Regions from separate parts of the Homo sapiens genome. Here regions 2, 3, 4, 5 and 6 are each linked to region 1. Evidence: promoter capture Hi-C in 16 types of primary human blood cells and fetal thymus (Javierre and others, 2016). All regions are on one chromosome and are shown on one strand. Each heading gives the region's core, a stretch centred on a gene start or on the middle of the fragment in contact. The rest is flanking DNA. Distances are from core to core; before and after follow the strand shown. Region 1 holds the start of ANKRD44 (ankyrin repeat domain 44). Region 2 overlaps BOLL (boule RNA binding protein). Region 3 has its middle 34 kb from the start of PGAP1. Region 4 overlaps ANKRD44 (ankyrin repeat domain 44). Region 5 overlaps ANKRD44 (ankyrin repeat domain 44). Region 6 overlaps ANKRD44 (ankyrin repeat domain 44).

What was found. Contacts are between HindIII fragments. The CHiCAGO score rates a contact against its expected background, and 5 or more counts as called.
Region 2: a contact is called between a fragment that was not itself captured here and the fragment with the promoter of ANKRD44 in region 1, in 1 of 17 cell types (M2 macrophages). The highest score is 5.0, in M2 macrophages.
Region 3: a fragment that was not itself captured here is called in contact with the fragment with the promoter of ANKRD44 in region 1 in 1 of 17 cell types (neutrophils); the score reaches 5.8 in neutrophils.
Region 4: a contact is called between a fragment that was not itself captured here and the fragment with the promoter of ANKRD44 in region 1, in 1 of 17 cell types (total B cells). The highest score is 5.7, in total B cells.
Region 5: a fragment that was not itself captured here is called in contact with the fragment with the promoter of ANKRD44 in region 1 in 3 of 17 cell types (neutrophils, total B cells and naive B cells); the score reaches 7.2 in neutrophils.
Region 6: a contact is called between a fragment that was not itself captured here and the fragment with the promoter of ANKRD44 in region 1, in 4 of 17 cell types (total B cells, monocytes, total CD8 T cells and 1 more). The highest score is 9.1, in total B cells.

The regions. Positions count from the first base shown.
Region 1 is chr2:197,309,078-197,312,859 of GRCh38, reverse strand. It overlaps ANKRD44 (ankyrin repeat domain 44), which reads left to right and starts at 2,080. Exons shown (of 28, transcript NM_001195144.2): 1 at 2,080-2,282. The coding sequence starts at 2,256. It overlaps ANKRD44-DT (ANKRD44 divergent transcript), which reads right to left and starts at 1,794. Exons shown (of 4, transcript XR_923750.3): 1 at 162-1,794. RefSeq lists silencers at 1,765-1,844, 1,855-2,174, 2,225-2,604 and enhancers at 2,728-3,229, 3,681-3,740. The HindIII fragment of the contact is 14,364 bases long and covers 1-3,782 here.
Region 2 is chr2:197,771,715-197,775,496 of GRCh38, reverse strand. BOLL (boule RNA binding protein) reads left to right here. Exons shown (of 11, transcript NM_033030.6): 6 at 3,515-3,642. Among named protein-coding and RNA genes, the nearest start is that of BOLL, 12 kb to the left of the region's middle. The HindIII fragment of the contact is 3,006 bases long and covers 312-3,317 here.
Region 3 is chr2:196,959,031-196,962,812 of GRCh38, reverse strand. No RefSeq gene overlaps it. Among named protein-coding and RNA genes, the nearest start is that of PGAP1, 34 kb to the right of the region's middle. RefSeq lists a silencer at 679-788. The HindIII fragment of the contact is 4,897 bases long and covers 1-3,782 here.
Region 4 is chr2:197,002,603-197,006,384 of GRCh38, reverse strand. It overlaps ANKRD44 (ankyrin repeat domain 44), which reads left to right. Exons shown (of 28, transcript NM_001195144.2): 21 at 475-691. Among named protein-coding and RNA genes, the nearest start is that of PGAP1, 78 kb to the right of the region's middle. The HindIII fragment of the contact is 2,440 bases long and covers 956-3,395 here.
Region 5 is chr2:197,021,021-197,024,802 of GRCh38, reverse strand. The region is part of intron 17 of ANKRD44 (ankyrin repeat domain 44); the gene reads left to right. Among named protein-coding and RNA genes, the nearest start is that of PGAP1, 96 kb to the right of the region's middle. The HindIII fragment of the contact is 5,296 bases long and covers 1-3,782 here.
Region 6 is chr2:197,041,410-197,045,191 of GRCh38, reverse strand. All of the region lies in intron 16 of ANKRD44 (ankyrin repeat domain 44), which reads left to right. Among named protein-coding and RNA genes, the nearest start is that of PGAP1, 120 kb to the right of the region's middle. The HindIII fragment of the contact is 4,276 bases long and covers 47-3,782 here.

The DNA.
Region 1 (3,782 bases), core at 831-3,330:
ACAAAGAGAGTTGTGTTTTACCACTTACCTACTGAAATACATATTCATTATAAATTACTCTCCTTTAATTTTTCCTTTATTGTACAATTAGGACAATATATTGTTGCTGGTTTTTTTTTTTTTGAAATTTGTATTGGTAGGTAATATTATCCACAAATTACCTTTCAGGATAGTAAGGGGAGTGTTAAAGATACTAGTTACAAAAAGAGGATGATGGTCTGATTGGGTGGAGAACTGCTGCCTCCTCACTTTGGCCCCAGGAACTTAGGTGCAGGCATGTCCGCGATGAATCAAATTGGATCTTGAGTGAATCTTCCAAATTAAGTCATTTGTTATCACTCTTCTGAAAGATGGCTCTATTTAAGTAGAGAATGCAGGGTCCTATTCAGTTTACTTACAAAGCCATGCAGGGTGTTCAGTAAATAGACATACCAATAACAGCAGTGAAGAACTGACTCATAGATGCAACATAAACAATCTGTTGTATGTCTGAGAAAGGCCTTAGAATTTTTTGTTTGTTTGTTTCCATGCAACATTGATAACAGAGGAGTGGAAGCCAGGAACAAAGTTCCTTGGTTCTTCTTGTCTGCATGATCTGAATTATAATCTATAAGACTAATAAAGGTAAATTTGAGATTTAGCTGCTTCGACAACCAGAGTGGCTGGATGGTAAATGTGAGGATATTAATGCTCCTTTCTCTCCTGTCTCATGTGGAATCTTTGGGGGAGGTTCTAAGAGTAGGGAGGAAGAATGGACATTTGGTTTGTGAATATACAGTAGAGGCAGATGTTTGGTCTTGACCAAAGAATTCTGTAGCTCTAGTTTGCTCTTCAAAGCTGTTCAATGCTGCCCTACAGGTTTGCTCTATGGCCTGCCAGGGGCACATGGGGCTGCCTGGGAGCACTTCCTCTCCACTTGCTTACTTAATTCTCCCTTCTCCAGATCTCAACTCCTGTCACTTTCTCAGGGAAGCCTGCCCTCACCCACCAGTCTGGTCTGATTCCTTTGTTGTGGGTTCACTTCAGAAGCATGTTTTCCCTTGAGATCCCTTATCTCAGTTTGTAATTACATTCATTAGCAGAGACTATGCGGTTTATGTTGGCATCTTCTGAGAGCAGGTTATCTTATTTATGCTCTCCGTTTATTCCCGTGCCTAGCCAGTGCCTGACAAGGTAGGGACTCAGTACATAGCTGTTCAATGAATAAGTGTTTGCTCCAAATTCCAGAACTATCAACAGCTACTATGCTTACGAATATGCCCGTTGTATCTGTAGCCCATGGTGTTTGACAGCTGTCTTCTATTTGTTGAAGAGCTTGGTAACTTGGGATTTTGTAGAGATCAGTAAGGACTGGTGGGAACACCCAAAAGACCCATCAACTCGGTGATTTAGGACTGCTTTGCTTCTCCAGGAACTCCACTCCACCCCCACCAGCAAAAACCAAACCCAGGGTGTTTGAATTTAACAATAGTATGTGTGTGTGCATATGTGTGTGTGTGTTTAGCTGGAAAGTGGCTGGAGAACAAGGTGGAAGGGCCAGAGCTTCTGTTCCCTCCACCCATAAATGTTTGGCAAACACCCTGTAAAGAATCACAATGTGTCCGCTGCCTCCTGGCATTAAACAAAGGGAGCATCATAATTGCGGTCCCTGGGATCTTCGGGGCGCTGCCACCACCTGATTCTGGGTTAGGGGAAGGGGGCGTAACCCCATCTCCCCGGTTAAAGTGGACGGCATGTGAGTGAGAGCCTTTCCTGCCCCCTCGGGGTGTGTCCCCGCGGGCTTCCCCACCCATATGTGTGAGACCCGTCAGGGAGGCCCGCGATCCGCCCAGGGCCCGGGGCCGGCCCGGCCGGGCGCCGCGTGCAGGTGCGGAAGGCAGGCGGCGGCCCGGTGCGGGCGCGGGGGCAGCGCCGGGGGCCGGGCTGCGCGGCTCGGCTGCGGGCGGCAGGAGGCAGCGTCGGCCCAGGCGGCGGGCGGCGAGCGAGCCAGCGCGCGGTGATGTCAGTGGCGGCCCGGCTGGCAGCAGCCGGTACTTCCTGTGGAAAGGCGGGCGGGCTCGGCTGCAAACCCCACTAGCCAGTGTCAGCCTCTCGGCGGGAGGAGGCGGCGGCGGAGGAGGAGCAGGGGGAGGGCTGTCAAATTCGGGAGCCAGATTTTTTCCCTTCTCCTGGCAATCCCTTCCGCTTCCCCGGCTCCCGGCGTGACATCTGCGGGCCGGGGACCTGCATGTGTGTGCGCGCGAAGGAGCGGAAGAATGGCAGTGCTCAAACTCACCGACCAGGTAGCGGGCGGCGGCGCCGGCGGGCGGGACGCGCGGGCGCGGGGCGGCGCGGAGCCCGGCGGGGGGATGGGGGCGCGGCTGGAGCGCGCCCGCGAGCTGTTTACTCGCGGCGAAGGGGAGGACTGTGTGCGGCCGCCGGTGCCTCCGAGAGCCCGCGGCGGCAGCTCCCCTCCGCCGCGCCGTCCCCGCCCTGGGCCGTCGGAACTGCGCGCCCGAGTCTGGGGCAGGGCCCGTGGGCGCTGGGCAGCCGGCGTGCGGGAGTGCGGCGGCCGCGGGCCCGGCGGGGCTGGGGAGGGGGCCGGGGGCTCGAGGTGCTCTCGGGACTCGCACCGCGCCGCGTTGCGTGGGCGCCGCCGGCCCGGGCCCCGGGGAGGAGGACGCTGCACGAAGAGGGAGAAAGGATCGCAGACTGGGACCCCTCCCCAAACCTAGCAGGAGTCCTGCCCAGAATGCGGCTCTTGTGTGGCCGGGCTGTCTTTATTTATCCGTTGGATGTGACATCCGACTTCCTCTTTAGTTGCGCCAGGCTGTGTGCGTGGTGCGGGATGGGGACCCCTGGAGACCGCCCTTTCGGATCGGGCCGGTCCCTCTGAGGAGGAGGTGAAGTCGGCTCGGAGCCTCCACTCACAGGCGGTGGGCTACGGTCTGCCTGTGTCTACCAGCTTTGTTGGCTTTCCTTGCTGAGACACCACACAGGGCAGCTCTGGAGTCCTGGCTTGGAGAGGTGGGGTTATTTGCTGAATCGGATTGACAGTCCTCGCCGCAGGTCTGTGGAATGGTAACAGCCACCTTCGCGGACTCTGCTGCTCTTACATTGACACTAACAGGCACCAAACCAAGTTGCATGACAAAACTCTTTGCAGCTCTTTCCACGAAAAAAGGAAACGGCTTGCTACCCCCACCCCCGTTTATTCGTGGGTAGTGAAAGGAACTTTGTTTTGGGGTCCTGGTAGGCAGAGAGGCAATCTTGACTTTGACTACAGGGTCAGACTTGCCAGCCCTTGGTATTAAATACCTCAAACTTGTCCATGGGTTGCATCTGCTGCCTTGCGTTCTCCAGTTAGTATCCAGCCAGAACATCTTGCAACTGAAGTGCAGTCCGTCACCACAATGATTTGCAATGATTTGTTCTCCTGCCTTTTAGATTCAATTTTTTTAGCTTGTTTTTCCTAAATATTTACAGGTGTTTGGCGGGGTTGGTGATGGGGAAATCACTGAGTTAAAATTCATGTTATTGTTAAATTTAGTAAGAAGAGCAGCTGGTACTTGTGATGAATGTATTTGTTCTCATTGGTTCCAGAGCATTTAAAAGTGTAAGTTGATATCAGGATTTCCTTCACCTTTTGGTCACATACTTTGCCAACTGTTAGACATTTGCGTATTTTAAATCCTACAGTTTTAGCGTGTCTTGGGCCTGTCATCTTTGCTAGTACACGTTGCTGTACTTGTCTGTTAATCCCTAGATCTTCAAAGTACAAAGAATGGTTCTAATAGGTATTG
Region 2 (3,782 bases), core at 565-3,064, 460 kb before region 1:
TCAATTTTTTTGGCTGGGAAAAAATTTATATACATAAAGATGCTTAAGTATATTCCATGTAGTTACATCATTAAAGGAAAAAAAATCTTTCGTGATGAAAATATCATTTAATATAGCAAAAGTAATTAGAAGTAATTTAATAATTTAGACTTACTAATGAGAAAAATTTTAATTAGAAACTAATTTAAAATTAATCAGAGTAAAAATATTGAAAGTGAAAACATAGAACTAATATCAGAAACTCGCTGCATGCTGTGTACTGTAACCCAGCCAGGTGTGTCATAATTTTCAGGGGGACAATCCCTAAAGCTTTAGGAATTGGCTAAATTATGTATCTACCTTCCTCAAATTTCTCTAATGCTTTCAATTCTATCTTTCCTCACTCTTTCTACTTATTAAGTTAGGCATCTTTATAGTTAACTTTTTACCTTTAATATTTATTAAAATTCCTAACAGTCTTTGGCTAGAAGGAGAAATGTGATGTAAAATTTATAACTAACTTATTTTCCCTTAGCCACATCCTAGTGTCTACGGGAATGTTTAAAACATTAGGTTATTATATATAATCTGTTAACAAATTAATAGATTGTATTCATTTGGACTGTTATGCTTTTGACTTAGAAATAATAGATATTTGGTTAATACAGTTGCCACAACTACAACAAAAAAGAGATTGATGTATATTAAGTTTAATTTTGACTTAGTATTTGTTAATTTAGGAGACAATCAAAGTATCCTCAGTAGGTTAATACAAAATGGAATGCACTAAATATGGCAGAATGCTGAATATTTTCAATCTACTGTTGTTACTTGCAAAGGTTAAGCTAGAACATATAGTAACGGTCCGTTAGCCCATTATCACCAGCAATATGTACTAAATAGTAATGCTCATAGTATGATCTACCAGTTGCTGAAATAGAAAATAAATCAGCACTATGCTGAATGCTTTCACATATACAAATAGTTTTTTCAAAACTACTTAGTGCAAGGGTCAATGTTATGAGTTTTCATTTAATCTTCATAGAATCCCATGATGTATTGTTATCTCTATTTTTGTAAATAGAAAATTCAATCCCAAAAAGATAAAGTCATTGTTTTAAAAATGTTTCTGCTGAAATACTCCTAAAGGTAGAGGAGAGTTAATCTTGGCATGTTGTGGTTCCTAACCCACTGCAGCATACTGGAATTGCAAATTTTCTTTAAAGTCTCATGATTTATGCAAAAACATCATGTATAATTTGCATTCTGTTCCATAATATCATATTGTTTATTTGAATATAAAAATATTTCCCAAAAACAATTGAATAAAACTGATTCTGTAGGAAGATTACTATGTTCAGCCTCTGCTTTTTCATATCTCCTGGTATACCATCCATCCCTTATCCAACTTTAAGAAGTATGGGGTTAAATAGCCTAATGGTGAGTGGTAGCACTAGCCTTCAAATGCAGGACTGTTTGACTCCAAAGTTCTTTTGACTTTTCTGCGAAGAAAAATAGGTGTTAAAAGTACATTTACAAATAAGGGATTCTTATCTTAGTTTTTTCTTAGATCTGTCATTTCTTTCCATCTCCATTACCAACACCCGAGTCCCAACTAACCACTTTGTTTACCTTAATTCCTGGAAAAACATCCTAAGTGGTCTCTCTGAATCCAATCTTTCTACCTTCCAATCCATCATTCACAAGGCAGCCAGAGTGATCTTTCAAAAGTGCACCTCTTATTGTCTTATGCTCAGCTTATTTTGAGGTATTCTTCCCTTTTCTTTCCATGCTTTAGCCATGTAGCCTTCTTTCAGTTCCAGAACATTCTATACTCCTGTTCTCAGAATCTAATATACTGTTTTCTTTACCTAGAATGTACTTTGCCATCCAATTCATTCTTTAGAGCTTAGCTGAACATCATTTCATCACAAATTTTCCATATATATGTATATAGAGAGAAATTTTATATATGTTTTGTATACATAATAATTGAAATGTTCAGTATCGTACCCTATAATGCCTCATGTATTTATCAAAATTGTATTTAATTAATTAATTGTGTAATCAACTAATGACTATCTTCACTACCAGACCTAACTTCTTTGAGGATACAGACCATCTCATGTCTAATTTTTTTATTTTTTGCTGTATCACTAGGGCCCTGTTCAATGCCTTGAAATAGTATGCACTGAAAATTTATTTATTTAGCAGGTAAAGCATGGTTCATTTTCTTTGAATAATGAACCATTATTGAATAATGAACCATTATCATTATCTTTGAATAATAGTGGAATATCTTTTGGGGGGAATCCATGGACCTCCAAAATTGTGTGTAAAATTGTGTTTGACTGTATATATATCTGAGGAAAAGGTCCCTGATTTTCATCAAATTCTCAAAAGGATCTAATTAAGAACCATTAAAATAAATAATAACAATACTAGATCAAATGCAGTGAAAATATAAAAGCTGAGGAGCAATAGTATTATTTAAAGTGGTAGGCCCATGCTATTTGAAGTGTGGTTTGCAGACAGTGTCATTTCATTGGAAGCTGTCAAAATGCAAATTCTTAGGCCCTGTCCCAGATTTACTGACTCAAAATCTCTGAAGATAAGTCCCTGGAATTTGCATTTTAGAAAACAATTTAAGTGATTCTAATTTATGGGAAATTTTGAGAAGCACTGGTATAGGTGGAAGAATTGTCAGTTTCACTAATTTATATAACCTTGCTGGTTAAGACCTAATCTAATTTGGCTAATTTAACTTTTAAAGTCTCCTCAATGACAAAAAATATATATATATCTATGTATATTATTTACTGTTTTTTGGTTTGTGGTGGGGGTTTATATAACTTGGCCCGGGAAAAGAGTTGGGGACCCCAGACTAGCCACATGAAGACTTGCGGTCATGTTTGCAACAGCAGCAGTTGTAGCAAAGGGAGACTAGATAGAGAATAGATCATAGAAAAGAGAGATAAAAGACAGCCATAGCATGAACGAATGTTTGCTGGTAGGATATCCAAAGAATTAGTAGGGTGGAACCAAAATGTCTTCAGGAAAGTAGAATCTTCTCCAACTTTACTGCCTCCATCATCTTTGGACTTTCAGAAATAAAAGGTCTAGCCAAGACCTTAGGAACTTCACTACAGTGTATGTTGTCTTGAAGTAACTTTAAATTATACATAATTTATATTTGTACAAATAATTACTTCGCTGATGATAGTCTAAATTGTTCAGCTTTGTGTAGCATACTGGTGTTGGAATCTGAATTGATACATTTTTGGTATTTCTTATTCGTATTGTTTTTCTTTTCTTTTAATCATCTTAAACTAAAAGCTTTAAGGTATTGAGTTTAAAAATACAGGCTTCAAAGATACTTTGACATAAGGAATTTTTTAAAAATATCTGTGACATTCAATTTTTACCATAGCTACATAGGTATATTAAGATAAATATTTTTCTGAAGTGTTTAGAAACTACATTTTTAACAGTTAAATTGAACATTTCAATTATTATTATTTAATCTTTGCTTTAGGTTCTAGTATAATGCCAGCAGCTGGAACAATGTATCTAACAACTTCAACTGGATATCCTTATACTTACCATAATGGTGTTGCTTATTTTCATACTCCAGAGGTAACTTCGGTCCCACCGCCTTGGCCTGTAAGTAATTTCATTTAAAAAAGGATTTCCATCTATTACTATCAATTTTTTAATGTTTGTTATATTTCTGAAATATCTTAACCACAGATAATTACAAATAATAACACACATCAACCAAATTAAATAGACATCAACATTTT
Region 3 (3,782 bases), core at 847-3,346, 350 kb after region 1:
GAAAATATGATTTTAATGGCTGTATATTATTTCATTTCATGGACTATTCCATTTCATGGCTGTATATCATTCCATTTCATGGACTTACCATAATGTATTTATCTCCTTTGGGCAGACATTCAGATTGTTTCCAAGTTTGACCCATGTACATTTTCAGTAAACATCTTTGAGGACAAATATTTGTCCACCGCTCTGACTCAGGATAAATTTCATACTTACGATAAATACCAAGAAATGAGATGACTGTTAATTCTAGAGCTGACTCTTTTCTCACCCTCTTGGCTTCTTATAGCTTCCATGATTGCCTCATCTCCATGGGGCTCCTCTATGTCAACAAGGTAAAATAGTTCAGCTGCCAACCCACAGGTACAGAGGCACTGAATCTCTGGCAGTTTTAATAGATGGGATAAAAATCCTATCCAAAGACAAGGTTGAGATTTTCTTCACTTAGGAATTTTCATTAAAAAACTAAGAGTAAAACAAAACAATACTTACAAAATGGAACTTTCTGCTGCATATAACTTCTAGCCAAAGAGTACCCTTCAGGGTTCCCAGTCCTGAGGTCTTTTACTCACCTCCTCCCCAACTGGGTTAGATGTGATAGTTGCCTGGTCCCTCCCAGAACCAGATTTCTGGCATTGTCTGCAGCCCACTCTCACATATGTGCCAATCCTACCCTGTTGCTCTTCAGGAGCTCTGCATGAACCTGAAAGTAGCACTTTCTCACTCTATAACTGTTGGTTTCCTGTTCTGTCTTTCCACTAAGTTACACTGTGATCTTCTTGAAGGCAGAGACTGTATTTCACTTCCACAACCATAATGATCAGCATGGTACCCAGAACTTATCTGACTTAGATAAGTGTATACATGGATGCAAGCATGAACTAATGTGTGGACTCATACATATGTGAATGCATGAATCAATGACTAGTCAAAGGGAGATATGAGGAGTATATTTTTCCATCTCCAGCATCTAAAAGGGACTGTCTTCCCACTTTCAGGATAGTTAATTTTTACATATAAATGAGCAGTTTATTTGTAAGGTATGGGTGTTTATAAGATTGGTGTTCATAACTTGCAGAATTCATGTACCTTTGAGGAACATTCTGAAAACCAAACAAGTATTTCTTTTTTCTTCCCTTAGGATTAAGTGGCACTTATGAAAAGGAAAGAGAAAATAAAGGAAAATAAGAGAATGAGGCAAGATCTTTATCACCATGTCTTTCTGAAGTGAGAGACACATTCCTTTATTTAACTAGTCAGTGCCTTGATACAAAGTGTGAGGAGCGTGTAGGGAAACAGGCTCTCTTAGTCATCATTGGTGGGAGTGTAAATTGGTGCCAACATTTTGGAGGTAATTTTGGGAGTATTTATCAAAATTCTAAATGCATATACCATCTGGCCAAGCAATTCAACCCCTGGGGGTTTATGTCCCAGAATGCTTCCATAATGCATAAATATGAATGTATAAGGATGTTAGTTGCAGCACCATCTCTAATAATCAAAATTTGAAAATAATCCAGATGCCCATCAAAAGGGGATTGGATAAATAATGTTAATCAATATAGTGGGATCTATCCAATTTAAATTATTTAGTGATAAAAGCTAAATTGCACATAACATGAACCCACATTCTAGAAAGAAGATGTAAATGCATCAGGATGTAAGACAAGAAGGATATATTGCAAATGTAGTGGTGGCTACCTGTGGGGAGTAGGGATTGGGGTAGGAGTAGAAGAGACTTTTTTTTTTTTTTTTTGAGATCAAGTCTCATTCTGTCACCTATGCTGGAGTGCAATGGCACAATCTTGGCTCACTGCAACCTCCGCCTCCAGGGATCAAGTGATTCTCCTACCTCAGCCTCCCTAGCAACTGGGATTTTAGGTGCCTGCCACCATGCCTGGCTAATGTTTGTATTTTTAGTAGAGATGGGATTTCGCCATGTTGGCCAGGCTGGCCTCGAATTCCTGACTTTAGGTGATCCACCCACCTCGGCCTCCCAAAATGCTGGAGTTACAGGCGTGAGCCACCACACATGGCTGGAAGAGACCTTTTTGATCTTATGTATTTACTTCTGTATTTAAAAAAATTATCTAAAACAAATATGCATTGCCTTTTAAATAAATATTTTAAAAATAAAAACAATAATTAATTGCTAATTTGTCAAGCCCTGGGCTGAGAATTGACCTATTCTTGGGCATTAGAAATCTTTAGTGATCGTAAACATTTCCTTTGAGGTCATTTAAATGATGGGAAGAACAAAACTGAGCAAAATACTAGAAATATCAAAATTTCAGCCATCTGATCCACATTCAAGTCCTGTTTTAGAAATATCATAGCCCTATGTTGAACTCTTTTTTACTATAGAATAGGAACTTTTGAATGAGACCATTTAAAATTATCCAAGACTCCAATTCTGGAAGTTTTTTTTTTTTTTTTTTCAGCTTTCTGCCTCACCTACGTGTCAAGTCAGACTTGGTGTTGGTTGGATTTATTTTAATTTATCCTCAGCCTTCCAAGAGCAAGTCCCTCAGTAACAGTTTCTGAATGGCCTGTTATCTGTTATGTTTTGTTTGCACATGGAAGTTGTCACGTGTTCTCTGTGACAACATGATTTCTCAATATTCAAGGGCTGAATCCTTTTCCTGACCACATTTTCTACTTGGCTTGGGATCTTCTAGAGGTTACCCATACCAAGCTCTTTTAAACTTACATAGGAATTAGTTGCTATTTTGAGCCAGCACCACACCAAGCTCTAGACAACTTCAAGCTCCCTATTATTCATATCTACTTCTAAATAATTAAAGCCATGGACAACAATATCTGGCTACATCAGCCAGTGCTTTGCGCAGGCTGAAGAATGGAGAAAGTTCACTGAACTGCTGCTATGCACTTTATTGCCATAGCTCTGGGCAAAACCTTCAAGTGGTTGCATTTTGTATGCAGGATTGCTGGCCAAACTTTTGAATTATGCTACACAATGTCACAGGCCATTTCAGCTGGCGTCCAGACACTCCTAGTATAAAAACAACCACCAGCACCCACTGTACATTTTCTCTCATTGACATTGCTGGGTGCTTTTGTTTGGTAATAGCTTGGGGCAGGGAAGAGGGGTGATGAGGATAATGGAGACGATAACATGACACTGAGGCCATTGGGTGGATTGTGAGCCCCTAGAACTACAGAATATTTTTTTTCATGAACAGGACTTGCTTTGGGGCCCAGATGTCAAAGAGTGACACAGAGTTGGAGAGGGCCATTTTTTCCCACCTCCCTGTGGAATCCAGTATTGTTCTGGCACATGTGATGGGGACTTTGGAGACATTGGGAGACAGTATTCTCAGCACATTCTTGGTCAAGTGTTTCGCAGTGGACTTCCTCAGTGAAGGCAGTGATAAAAATTTCTTCCAGCTGCTTGCCAGGACTTCATGTTGACAGATGAGAACTGGAGCAGACAAGAAAAAATACTAGGGATGCTCCAAGAGGGCCAGGACAGAGATTTCTGTAGGACTCTGTTGTATCCTCTCACATAGTATGCACTCAGTACCTATTAATTAAGTGGGTGGATGATTCTAGTAGTGATTAAAGCTGATAGATTGGTTTGTGAATATGAGGAAAGCATATGTTCAGGGACTCCCAGAAATAACCAGGACCATTTTGAAGAAAAATAGCTACTGTTTAAAGAAAATAAAATTTGAATCCCATTATAATTTATACAATGTGTGACCTAAATTTGTTTCTACAGGTAAAGTGTGTGACCACATTTGTTTCTACAGGTAAAG
Region 4 (3,782 bases), core at 926-3,425, 310 kb after region 1:
CAAGCTCTGCCTCCCAGGTTCACGCCATTCTCCTGCCTCAGCCTCCCAAGTAGCTGGGACTACAGGGACCCACGACCATGCCAGGCTAATTTTTCGTATTTTTTTTAGTAGAGATGGGGTTTCACCATGTTAGCCAGGATGGTCTCGATCTCCTGACCTAGTGATCCTCCTGCCTCGGCCTCCCAAAGTGCTGGGATTACAGGCGTGAGCCACCACGCCCGGCCGCATCATGATATCTTTCACAGTTGTCAGGAGAGGCAAGAGATATTTCGAAAATGCTGATGTTCACAGATTTTTCTGTTATGAATTTTGCTGAGGTTGTCCTGCCTTCTGCCCTTGAAATAGGACAGAGTCTGCCTTCCTTAAAGACCCAGGCATATGTCCACTTGCTCTAAGCCCAGCCTCACTTAGCCAACTGCTTTGCTTCCTTAGTCTTCTGAGGTTTGTTTTGTGTTTTTAATTACAATGCATCAGATTATGACAGGACACGAGGAATGTGTGCAAATGCTGCTGGAACAAGAAGTGTCAATTCTCTGTAAAGATTCCAGAGGGAGGACGCCCTTGCACTATGCAGCTGCTCGTGGCCACGCCACGTGGCTGAGCGAGCTGCTCCAAATGGCTCTTTCTGAGGAGGACTGTTGTTTCAAAGATAACCAAGGCTACACGCCGCTGCACTGGGCTTGTTACAATGGTGAGTTGCTTATCATTTGACTGATTCCACTAGACTTCCTACCCCAGGACCACTGTGAGCTCAGTGGAGGTGAGAGCCTTATGTAATTCTGCAAACCATGGTTTCTAATCTTTCTGCATCCAAGATATCTTTTTTGTGTATTTTGTTTGTTTTTTTAATAGTTCTCACCCCTCCACAGCTGCTGTGATGCCTTAACTGAGTAAAAGTTCACTTTCCCCTTTTAGTTAATCATTAACACTTAACCGTAATCAGAACCGATAAGCTTAAATGACCAATTTTATTCAGGGTTTCTGATCTATATAATATAACCAGGATCCCACAAGGGATTAAAATAATAAAACTAATACCAAATATATGTATATAATTTAATAACCTGTCACAATTGATTACTAGTAGATGCATGGTTCATCTTTTGGTGTTTGTTGTGTTTCATATTCCTTATTTATTTTGTTGTACTTATTATTTGGGAGATTTTTAAATTTGTATTTCACTTAATTTAAAAATGCATCCTAATTATACCAATTCCAAAGTACAGAAATATCTGAAGTAAAATTGTTTCCATTTCTAAACCTACTTTCTAATGTAATTTTGTGTGCATCTTTCATAATTTTTCCTTTGAAAATATAAATAATTATAAATTAATGTGTATATTTTTTGAAACTGGAATTATAGAACAAATAGCAGCCATTCTATAATTTTTTGTTGGTGTTTAAATTGTATTGCAGATATTCTTACAAGTCAATATGTATCAATATGGATTGATCTTATAATGGTTGTATATTATTTCATAGCAATATGTATACCAGAACTTATTATTTATTCAACCAGGTTTCTGTGGATTGACATTCAGATTTCTTTTTTCCTATTACAAGCAATGCAGCAATGTGCATGTCCATATTATGGTACCATAAATTCTCTCAGATAAGTTTCCAGAAATAAAATTATTGAGTAAGGGGGTTTGTGTATTTTTTAATTTTAATAAATTATACCATATTATTTTGCAAAAAGGATATCAAAATTTATTATTTCACCAAACATTTGTATAAAAGTTAGTGTTTTTCCTCATGCTTGCCAACCCAGAATAACACCTTTTTAAATTTTTGTCGATTTGAGAGGCAAAAGGTATCTTCTTGTTTCAATTTGCATTTCCCTATCTAATAGTACCCTGGCTATTTGTATTTCTTCTTCTAGAAATTACTTTTTCCATCCACTGTTCACTTTTTTCCTATTGAGCTATTTATCTTTTCTCGTATGCTTGTGGGAGCACCTTGTCTTGGTGATAAGAATGTGATATGAATGAATGTTTAATGATATGAATGTCTTAGAAATATGAATATTTTTGTTCCTTGTTTAGGATGTTTTTTTCCACTTAGAGATTTTGAGCTTTTATGTACTTGAATCAGTTACAGAGATACATTTCTATTATATTTTCAACAAATATGTATTGAATAACTACAATGGCAGCTACTGTTTAGATACTTGAAATATGTCAATGAACAAAACCAAGATCCTATCAGATTTTGTATGGTTTCCAGGTTTCCAGTCTCTCTTCAAAAGGTCTCCTACCCCTAAGATTATATGGATATTTTCCCATGTATTTTTTACTTTGCTTCTATAATTTTCTTTTTACATTTTCAATTAGTCAATTAAAATTTTAATTTAGAAACCATTAATAGTTCCACAAAAGGCGTTTGTGTGTGTGTGTGTGTGTTCTAATTATATCAATTTAAGACCTCTTACTGTGTTTTCACTACGGTCCTCTTTTTTCATTCATTCTGCTCAGTAAGAGCCAAATTTTCTATTTCCTCAACTTGGTTTTGTTCCCTTCCTGCCATTGGAGGATTGTGATTTTTTTTTTTAACCTACTAATGGGTGACCCCCATCTGGGTCAAGCTGTGGGAGCTCTCTGGCACTGGAGAACCTACAAGAGGAGAAGGATGCAGTGAGAGTGCTGATTATAATGGCGGGCCGCAAACCTGACACAGACCAGATCCTCTCTTCAGGGCTCAGGGTGAGAGGTGTCTGTGTTCCTAGCCTCTCCAGGTACAGGCAGGGGAGGAGGAGCAGTCTCCTCCTAAGCCGTTCACCCTTTCAGTGCAGCCTTTGTCCAGGACTGAGTTTCAAGCTCCCATCTTCCCAGACTCCTTTTTACTAGGCACTTTGAAATATTGAAAGGAGCTCAGTCATCTCCAGTCCTACCTGTACAGACTCTTAAATTGGGATTCATATAGTCCCCACTTAAGGAATGCTATGTGTGGATGCTACCCTAAGCTAGATCCTTTGGAAGACTTGAGGTGTCTGGGACTATTTCAATGACGGTTCCATGTAGTTAGTTGGAAGGCTAAATCATACAACTTTCCTAGAGCTGCTGGCTTTTTTTTTTCTAGGGGTGTATGGAGTCTTACTCTGTCACCCAGGCTTGTGGCGTGATTTCGGCTCACCACAACCTTTGCCTCCTGGGTTCAAGCGATTCTCCTGCCTCAGCCTCCCGAGTAGCTGGAACTACAGACAGGCACCACCACACATCTTTTTTTTTTTTTGGTATTTTTAGGAGAGATGGGGTTTCGCCATGTTGGCCAGGCTGGTCTTGAACTCCTGACCTCAAGTAATTCGCCCGCCTCGACCTCCCAAAATGCTGGGATTACAGGCATGAGCCACCATGCCCAGCCACTGCCAGTTTTTTATATTTATTACTTCATAAGCTTTTTAATCTGTCTAAAAGCAATATTGCCTATTCTCTTTTTAGATATAAGAAAAGTTTGATTTGTATTTTAATATTTCAAATTGTCCCATCTACATCATTCTGAGGTAGATCATAAGGGAACTTTCACTAACTTAGCACTGAGTTCAACCAAGAAGAGGTTTCAGGACAATCTGTGTTGCAAAGCAAAATGGCAATGCCTTCCCACATTAGAATTGAGAACCACAGAGACTTTGTCGTTGTTTTTTGTTTTTTGTTTTAACCAGGTCTGTAATGAGGGAATGCTTAGTCAGGCTGGGGAACCATCACCCTTCTTCCTGGGAGACAATACCAGGCAGCAAGATCTGTCTTACAATTGTATAGAACGTCACAAACCACACTGAGGCCCTT
Region 5 (3,782 bases), core at 592-3,091, 290 kb after region 1:
TACCACAGTTAAAAACTGGCAGGATGTTTCAGCACAAACTGATGAGAGCAAGATGAGCACATGCAGAGCTGCAGCTGCGACCTTCTGCCTGGACTTGAAATCAGGGTCTTCAACGAAGTCTGAGGCTCTGATTCTTGTACTGGGTGAGATCTGGGAGGTGAGGGAAGAAGAGTTATTTTATCACCAGTAACGCTTCCTCTCCACATCCCAGTAATTGAAGGCAAATGCAACAGCTCAGAGTGATGATCCCCAAACTCTTCATGGGAGTGACCAAGGTGGGAAGTGCACCCACCACTCTGTCTCAGATTGTGAGTTGCTAAGAGTTGGCCATCAGCAGCTGCTCCCTAGGAACCCTGCTGACTGGCAGCCACACCCAGCAACAGCCAGCTCACCTTCCCGAGGCACTCACGTGCCCTTGGTGCTGCTGAATTGTGAGCACTTGGTTCAAGGCCACAAAGATGGTGTTTGGATGCTTCTTTGCTTAGTAAAACCCAGGGGCAGGACACCAGGAAGAATGGGAAGGGGCTGGGTTTCTTTGTTTAACTGTGTTTATGACTTTTCACTTAATACTATGTGTACATAAGCACTCCTTCAGTGTCATTCTGATGAAAAATTGACCTGGAAATTTTGGAGAGAAGAGAGGAGTGTTTTATTAATTGACATGCAGAGGTGTTCAGGCAAGAGAGCGGAGACAAGGCCATCACACAAGGATTGGGAGTATCCAGAACTGACCATATGTGTGGAGCTTTCCTTTCACTGCCTGTCTCCCCACATACTCACAGCACACCTGCTGACACCCACTCACACGTCCTCTGACACCCACCAACACACCCACTACACGCTCATACACACATGCATTTTGAGTCCAGTGAAATCAGGGTAAAGTGTGCATCAGTCTGTGTTCCCGGAGATGGACTTACTGTGGAAAATGTGGATGAATAGTGGGATATTTATACATATAAATCTTCATGCCAGTTGGCCCTTAGTACAGGTTGCTTGCTAGAATCCCTGCCCAACCATCTGCTGTGCCTGGGGAAGTTACCCCAAAGCTGAGCACTCACAAACATAGCACTAACTGCCCCTAGAGAGTCTTATGTGGAGGGTTATCTCAGATACAATTCTCAGGCCCCAAGAAAGTGGGTTTGACTGCATTGCCAAGCCTGCTACTAATCTGAGAAGAGTTTCTTGGCTTCCAAAGACTTGATCATCTCTCGTTCTTCTTTTTTTTTTCCACAGTGTATTTGTTGAATGCTTATTGTGTACTCTGCTAAACTCTATGGGTTGCTGGCTGCGTAAAGATAGGGTGGTGATATCATTTAAAAGAGGTGGGCTTTGGTAGTTCTGCAGCTGACAGAGACCCAGGAAAGGTACATCAAGTGGAGGTCCTAGCTGCCATTCTTTTCATTAGCAACTCACCTGTGCATGGTTTCCCCACCTGTAAGTTAAAGGGAATCTGTTAGTTAAGCATCTCAAAGACCCTTTCCAACTTGTTAATTTATTGAATTGTTTATTGTGTGATATTAACCCAAATACCTCACCTCTTATGTCTCAGTGTCCCTACCCATGATATGAGAATAGCAGTACCTCAACGTAGGGCCATTGTGGAGATGGCATGAGTTAATGGATGTAACACAATTAGAACAGTGCCTGGCACACATATGTGCCATGAGCTAGCTTCATCGTCATCATTACTAACATCATATAACATCATTATTAACATCATCCTTTCATCCAACATACACTGACTGTGAATAGTGCCAAGCACTGTTTGAGTAGCTGGAGATATTGCAGTGAACAAAACCCCACCTCTGCCCTTGCAGAGTATCCAGTCTAGGGGAGACAAACAGGCGAGGAAATATCTCAAATGACAGATGGCAATAAGTGCTGCAGGTGCTACAGAGAAAATGAAATGGGATCAGGGAGATAGAAAGTATTGAGATGGCAGACAGGGTGCTTATTTATTTATTTAAGAGGTGGGGTCTCACTGTGTTGCCCAGGCTGGTCTCAAACTCCCGGGCTCAAGTGATCCTCCTGTCTTAACCTCCTGAGTAGCTGTAATTGCAGGCATGAGCTGCTGCACCTGGCCAGGGTGCTATTTTACGTAGCATAGAATCTCATATTTGTACAGAGACCTTAAGAGCTATGCATGTTGACATCTGATGAAGGAGTGTTTTGGGCAGAAGTGCAAAGTCCCTGGGGGAACTCATGAACTGTCCACAGAACAGGAAAGGGGCCACTGTGGCTGGAGCAGAGTGGTGAGGAGAGTAGCTGGGGGCAATGCCTCACATGTTGTGGAGGGAGCCAGGAGTTTGGGGGGCCACCACAGATCTCATGGGGACTTTTACTCTGAACAAAATAGGAAACTATTAGGAGGGTCTTGAGGAAACAGATTGATATGATGTGACTTTTGTTTTAAAAGGATCACTTTAGTTTCTATGTTGAGTCAAAATTGCAAGGGAACGAAAGCAGAAGCAAAGCAAACCAGGCAAGAGATGATGACCATGACTTTGACCAGGGTGATTACGGTGGATTCCTTCTAAAGTCATTTTATTCTTTCTCTCTAAATACAAATTATTTGCTTTAAGGACCCAAAAGGTATGCCCATCACCCTCTCTAGGGGCCTCAGTAGCAATTAACTTGATAAAACCCAAGGCACATAATTTCTTAGGTGGAAGCCATCTAGCAGTGTAATGGAACCAGATGCCCCCAAACCTTGACTGCTACAAGAAACCTGACCTGCCTTGAGTTACTATTTCCTGGCTGAATGATTCAAATCTCCAGGGTTATTGGCCCAGTGAATTTCATAAGCATTTCATCCTCTTGAAAAGATTAAATTAAGAAACAATGTTATGCAAATGAAAGGCTCTAGCTGTCAAGATTTCCAGACAGATCCATTGTTCTCATGGATTCTGTTGAGATCCCAATTCTTTCCCCTCATTGTCCTTAGTTCCTATCTTAAAAGGTCTGGAGAAATTAATCACGTTTAAGAGATAATTGTTTATAAAAAGTTGTCTTTCGTAGTTGCTAGACATAGTGTTTTATACGGCAGTTAGAGAAATTTTTCTCATTGTGCAGCTCACATATTCTGTAAACTTACTTAACATTTGGTTTGGTTGTTTGGTCAGTTCCTGAGAGAAATTAGTTTAAAAATCAAAAAACCCCATCTAAAAGTGGGCAAAGGATATGAACAGACACTTTTCAAAAGAAGACATTTATGTACCCAATAGACACATGAAAAATGCTCATCATCCCTGGTCATCAGAGAAATGCAAATCAAAACCGCAATGAGATACCATCTCACACCAGTTAGAATGGCGATCATTAAAAAGTCAGGAAACAGCAGGTGCTGGAGAGGATGTGGAGAAATAGGAACGCTTTTACACTGCTGGTGGGAGTGTAAACTAGTTCAACCATTGTGGAAGGCACTGTGGCAATTCCTCAAGGATCTAGAACTAGAAATACCATTTGACCCAGCCATCCCATTACTGGGATTGTAAATCCCAAAGGATTATAAATCATGCTACTAGAAAGACACATGCACATGTATGTTTATTGTGGCACTATTTACAATAGCAAAGACTTGGAACCAACCCAAATGTCCATCAATGATAGGCTGGATTAAGCAAATGTGGCACATATACACCGTGGACTACTATGCAGCCATAAAAAAGGATGAGTTCATGTCCTTTGTAGTGACATGGATGAAGATGAAAACCATCATTCTGAGCAAACTATCACAAGGACAGAAAACCAAACACTGCATGTTCTCACTCATAGGTGAA
Region 6 (3,782 bases), core at 935-3,434, 270 kb after region 1:
TGTTCAGCAAAGACAAGACAGCCATGAAAGTATCATAGGACAAGCTTGTATAGCCCAACTGCTTCCCTCTTACCAAAATAGAAAAGGAAAAAAAAAAAAGAAGAAAGAAATCCAGCTTATGGTTTAAACTGTGCAATTATAGAAACCACCAGAACCTTTGATAATTCTTTGGCATTTTAATAAAATCCACCGTTAATATTTAATTTTAATAATTCTAGTTATTCTTTCCAAATTCAGCACCCTCTCTGAGCACAAACTTGGAAACTTTTTTCAAAGCTGTTACAATGAATAAATGCGGAAATTAAGCTCTACTAATTTTTTTTTTTGCTTAGGCATAAAACTTCCTTTTTATAGCTCTTTTATGGAATTGCTAGGAATTTGTGTGTATAAACTATTTACAAATAGAGGGCTTGCTTTATTATTTTAGGACCAAGTGAGATCTCAGTTTGTGCTTGGTGTGTTGTTAGAATTAAAAGGGCATTCATCGAGATCATGTCACTTTTCAGGCATATACTTAAAAACTGACCATCATAGTCTGGGTGCGGTGGCTCACACCTGTAATCCCAGCATTTTGGAAGGCCGAGGCGGGCATCACCTGAGGTCAGGAGTTTGAGACCAGCCTGGCCAACATGGTGAAACCCTGTCTCTACTAAAGATACAAAAATTAGCTGTATGTGTGGTAGGCACCTGTAATCCCAGCTCAGGAGGCTGAGGCAGGAATTGCTTGAACCCAGGAAGCAGAGGTTGCAGTGAGCCGAGATCGCGCCGCTGTACTCCAGCCTGGGCAACAGAATGAGACTCCATCTCAACAACAACAAAAAAAATTGACCATCATAAATAAATGCCAGGCACCCTTCTGAGGAAAGCATACATTATGGTTATACTTTAAAACTGGAATGTGCAGTTGGAAACTGCAGGAGCTGATGTATAATCCAGTTCTTACTCTGTTTATCAACCATTTAGGAAATTTTGGAATAATTTGGCATCATAAGACAAATTCTGAAAAACATCTTTTGACTATGATAACATACAGAGAAGTATTCCAAAATTTTTATGCAGTTGTGTTCACTTCCATTTTTATTGCTTAATAAATAAAATTCCAAGAAATACAGTAAGTAAACAAAAAAGAAAATATCCTACAAATTGAATTTGTTATTTTAAGATATGGACTCTTCATTTTAATTGTTTGATCACTGATCCCTTGACTTTAAAAAGATCAGAAATAAAAATCACACTTCTAGTATAATTACTTTAATTTTTGGCACTAGATTTTATAAATAGATCATTCTTATCTAACCTTAAGCAGTTCACTTTATGAATTTGGCAATCAAGAGTGAATTAGTGCTTTCAAATATGTCCCTACCTAATCCATACACTAAATTAAAGAACCCATGATACAGTATGTGTCCTGAAAGGGAAAAAAAAAACCAGGGTCCAGTTTTGACAACCATGCTGTTGTCCAGCAAATAAAGGTAGTTTAGTCTCCCCCGTGTCAAGCTAATAGCATCACTACCTGTTTTTTAAATGGAACACTGAATTTTTTTTCACCTGCCTTTCATCTGCATGCTTAACATATTTGATGCCCCACATTTTTAAAAATTAAAAACAAAACTTTGTCAATATTTAATTTTCCATAATTTTTAGGGTGTAAGAAAGTATTTTTTAACATGACTTTCAAAATAAAGCCTCGTCAGGGTGGCTCATGCTTGTCATCTCAGTGCTTTGGGAGGCTGAGGTGGGAGGATCACTTTAGGGCAGGAGTTTGAGACCATCCTGGGCAACATAGTGAGACCCCCATCTCTACAAAAAATTTTTAAAAAGCCTTGTCAAAACTAGAGCAAAGTCATTCTAATAGATAATGGGGAACAATAAGAAAGGAACTTTACAAGTATAGATTTCTATTATATTAAATTGCTCTTCTGAATGATATAGAATTACACTACATTTTAGGTTTTCTTTCATTACTAGGGATTGAGGTAGTAGGATAAGTCCAGGTACTACAAAAACTTAATTTTAGTCAACAGTTTCACCTCTCTTCTTAAACCCGTTTATTGAAGCTATCAGCAAACAGTGAAACTGGTTAGGGTGAGAATCGTGAGGACGTTTGTGGTACATATTACTAAATTAAATATCCCTTTCTCTCACACCTGCTGTTCAACAAGCTAATTAACAGCTAGAAACAAAACACAAACAACAGATGGAAAAGGAGCCATAGACACACCCACATTGGTGCAAAAGCCTCTGAATCCAGGGAGTGAAACGGCTGCATTTGCATCCTGGTGGCCCAAATTCATAAACTGCAGTGAGTTTTATATGATGGACACTGTTTACCGAAAATGCCTCATTCTTGCCTTTACTGAAAATGCCTTGCATTTACTGAAAATGCCTCACTGGCTGAACATGATTCACTTTCAGAATTGCTGGATGCCTGAAAAGGTTTAGTCAGTTCTCAGCTGAGGTTGTAAAACTAAAAAATAAATAAATAAAAATAAACAGTTTAGGACCTGATTTTAAGACTTCTTAAAATTCATATGTTATTCCTGGGCTTTCTGGATTTGTGACAGTGATTTATATTTGACATTGGGGGAGAGAGGGTAGGAAGCAGAATGCCTGTCTTCCCCGAGAGACAGGTAGTTCTTTAAATATGGAGGCCTGGAGGAAAGAAATTTGGATTTTTTTTTTTTTTTTTTTTAGTAGTGGAGGGGGCAGATGTGGAATGAGAAGATACAATTGGAAGCAATAGGAATTGAGTCTTATGGACAGTATTCTTCCTTTTCTCCTAACAATGTTGGCCACTTGTGAAGGAAATGGTAGATATTTCCTATTCAATAATAGCCAAAGGACAAGGTAACAGGAGTAGGACTGGGATATGGTCTAAAAGCTCACAGAAAGTGAATCCAAGAAGGCTAGATTTGCCAAATGCAGGCCTGCAAGCTGGCTACCAGGAACCCCTTCAAATAAAAAGAGGCATAATTATCAGGAGGATAGTGTGTGGCTAAGGTGGACCCCGCAGTGGAAAGACTCAAAGTAGGAACCATTTTTTAAATTGACACACACACAAAATCAGGCTTGGGGGTATCATAGTTTTATTACATTAAAAGAAGATAAAGTTATATTATGATTTTTATATAGGCTTTTGTCTTCTTAAAATCTAAAACATATTTTTCTTATGTTTTTTTTTCATTAATGTACCCATTAAATAGCTGTGGTACAATAGATATCTTACCTAAATGAAAACCTGATTTAATGAAATGAAATTGTATGAACTTTGGAGAAAACAATTCTTTGAATTATCATGTTTAGCTTAGATTAGATTCATGTGCTCTTGCTTTCTGTTGTAAATAATCTGTTCTTTATTGTGTATTTCATTTTCTTCTGTGGTGAGATTTATTTTTGAAGAGAGGTAAGATGGAGAAGGAGAGAGGGGTCTGCCTGTTGGGCTGCAGGTGATCTGAGATCTGAGATCTATAGGTATCCTGCTGGAGTGAGGTTCCCTGTAGTTCTGCTAAAAATTCTAAGCAGGAAGGAGGCCAGAAAAAGAGACAGGAAGATGCATTGTGAATTCCTACTGAAGTGTGCTGAATGAATTCAACACTCTAAAGGCTGACCTTTTCTCTTAGAATGGGGAGAGAAGAGAGGCAATTGCTGGCATTAGGCAACTCCTGTTGGTTCCAGTGAGAAAAATGAGCAAGTGCTGGCCATACAGTCTTGAGGTGGCTTGAAGACCATAGTTGATGCTTGAGCCAAGGCCTATAGGGTATGCCCAGAGAGAGAGAGAGACA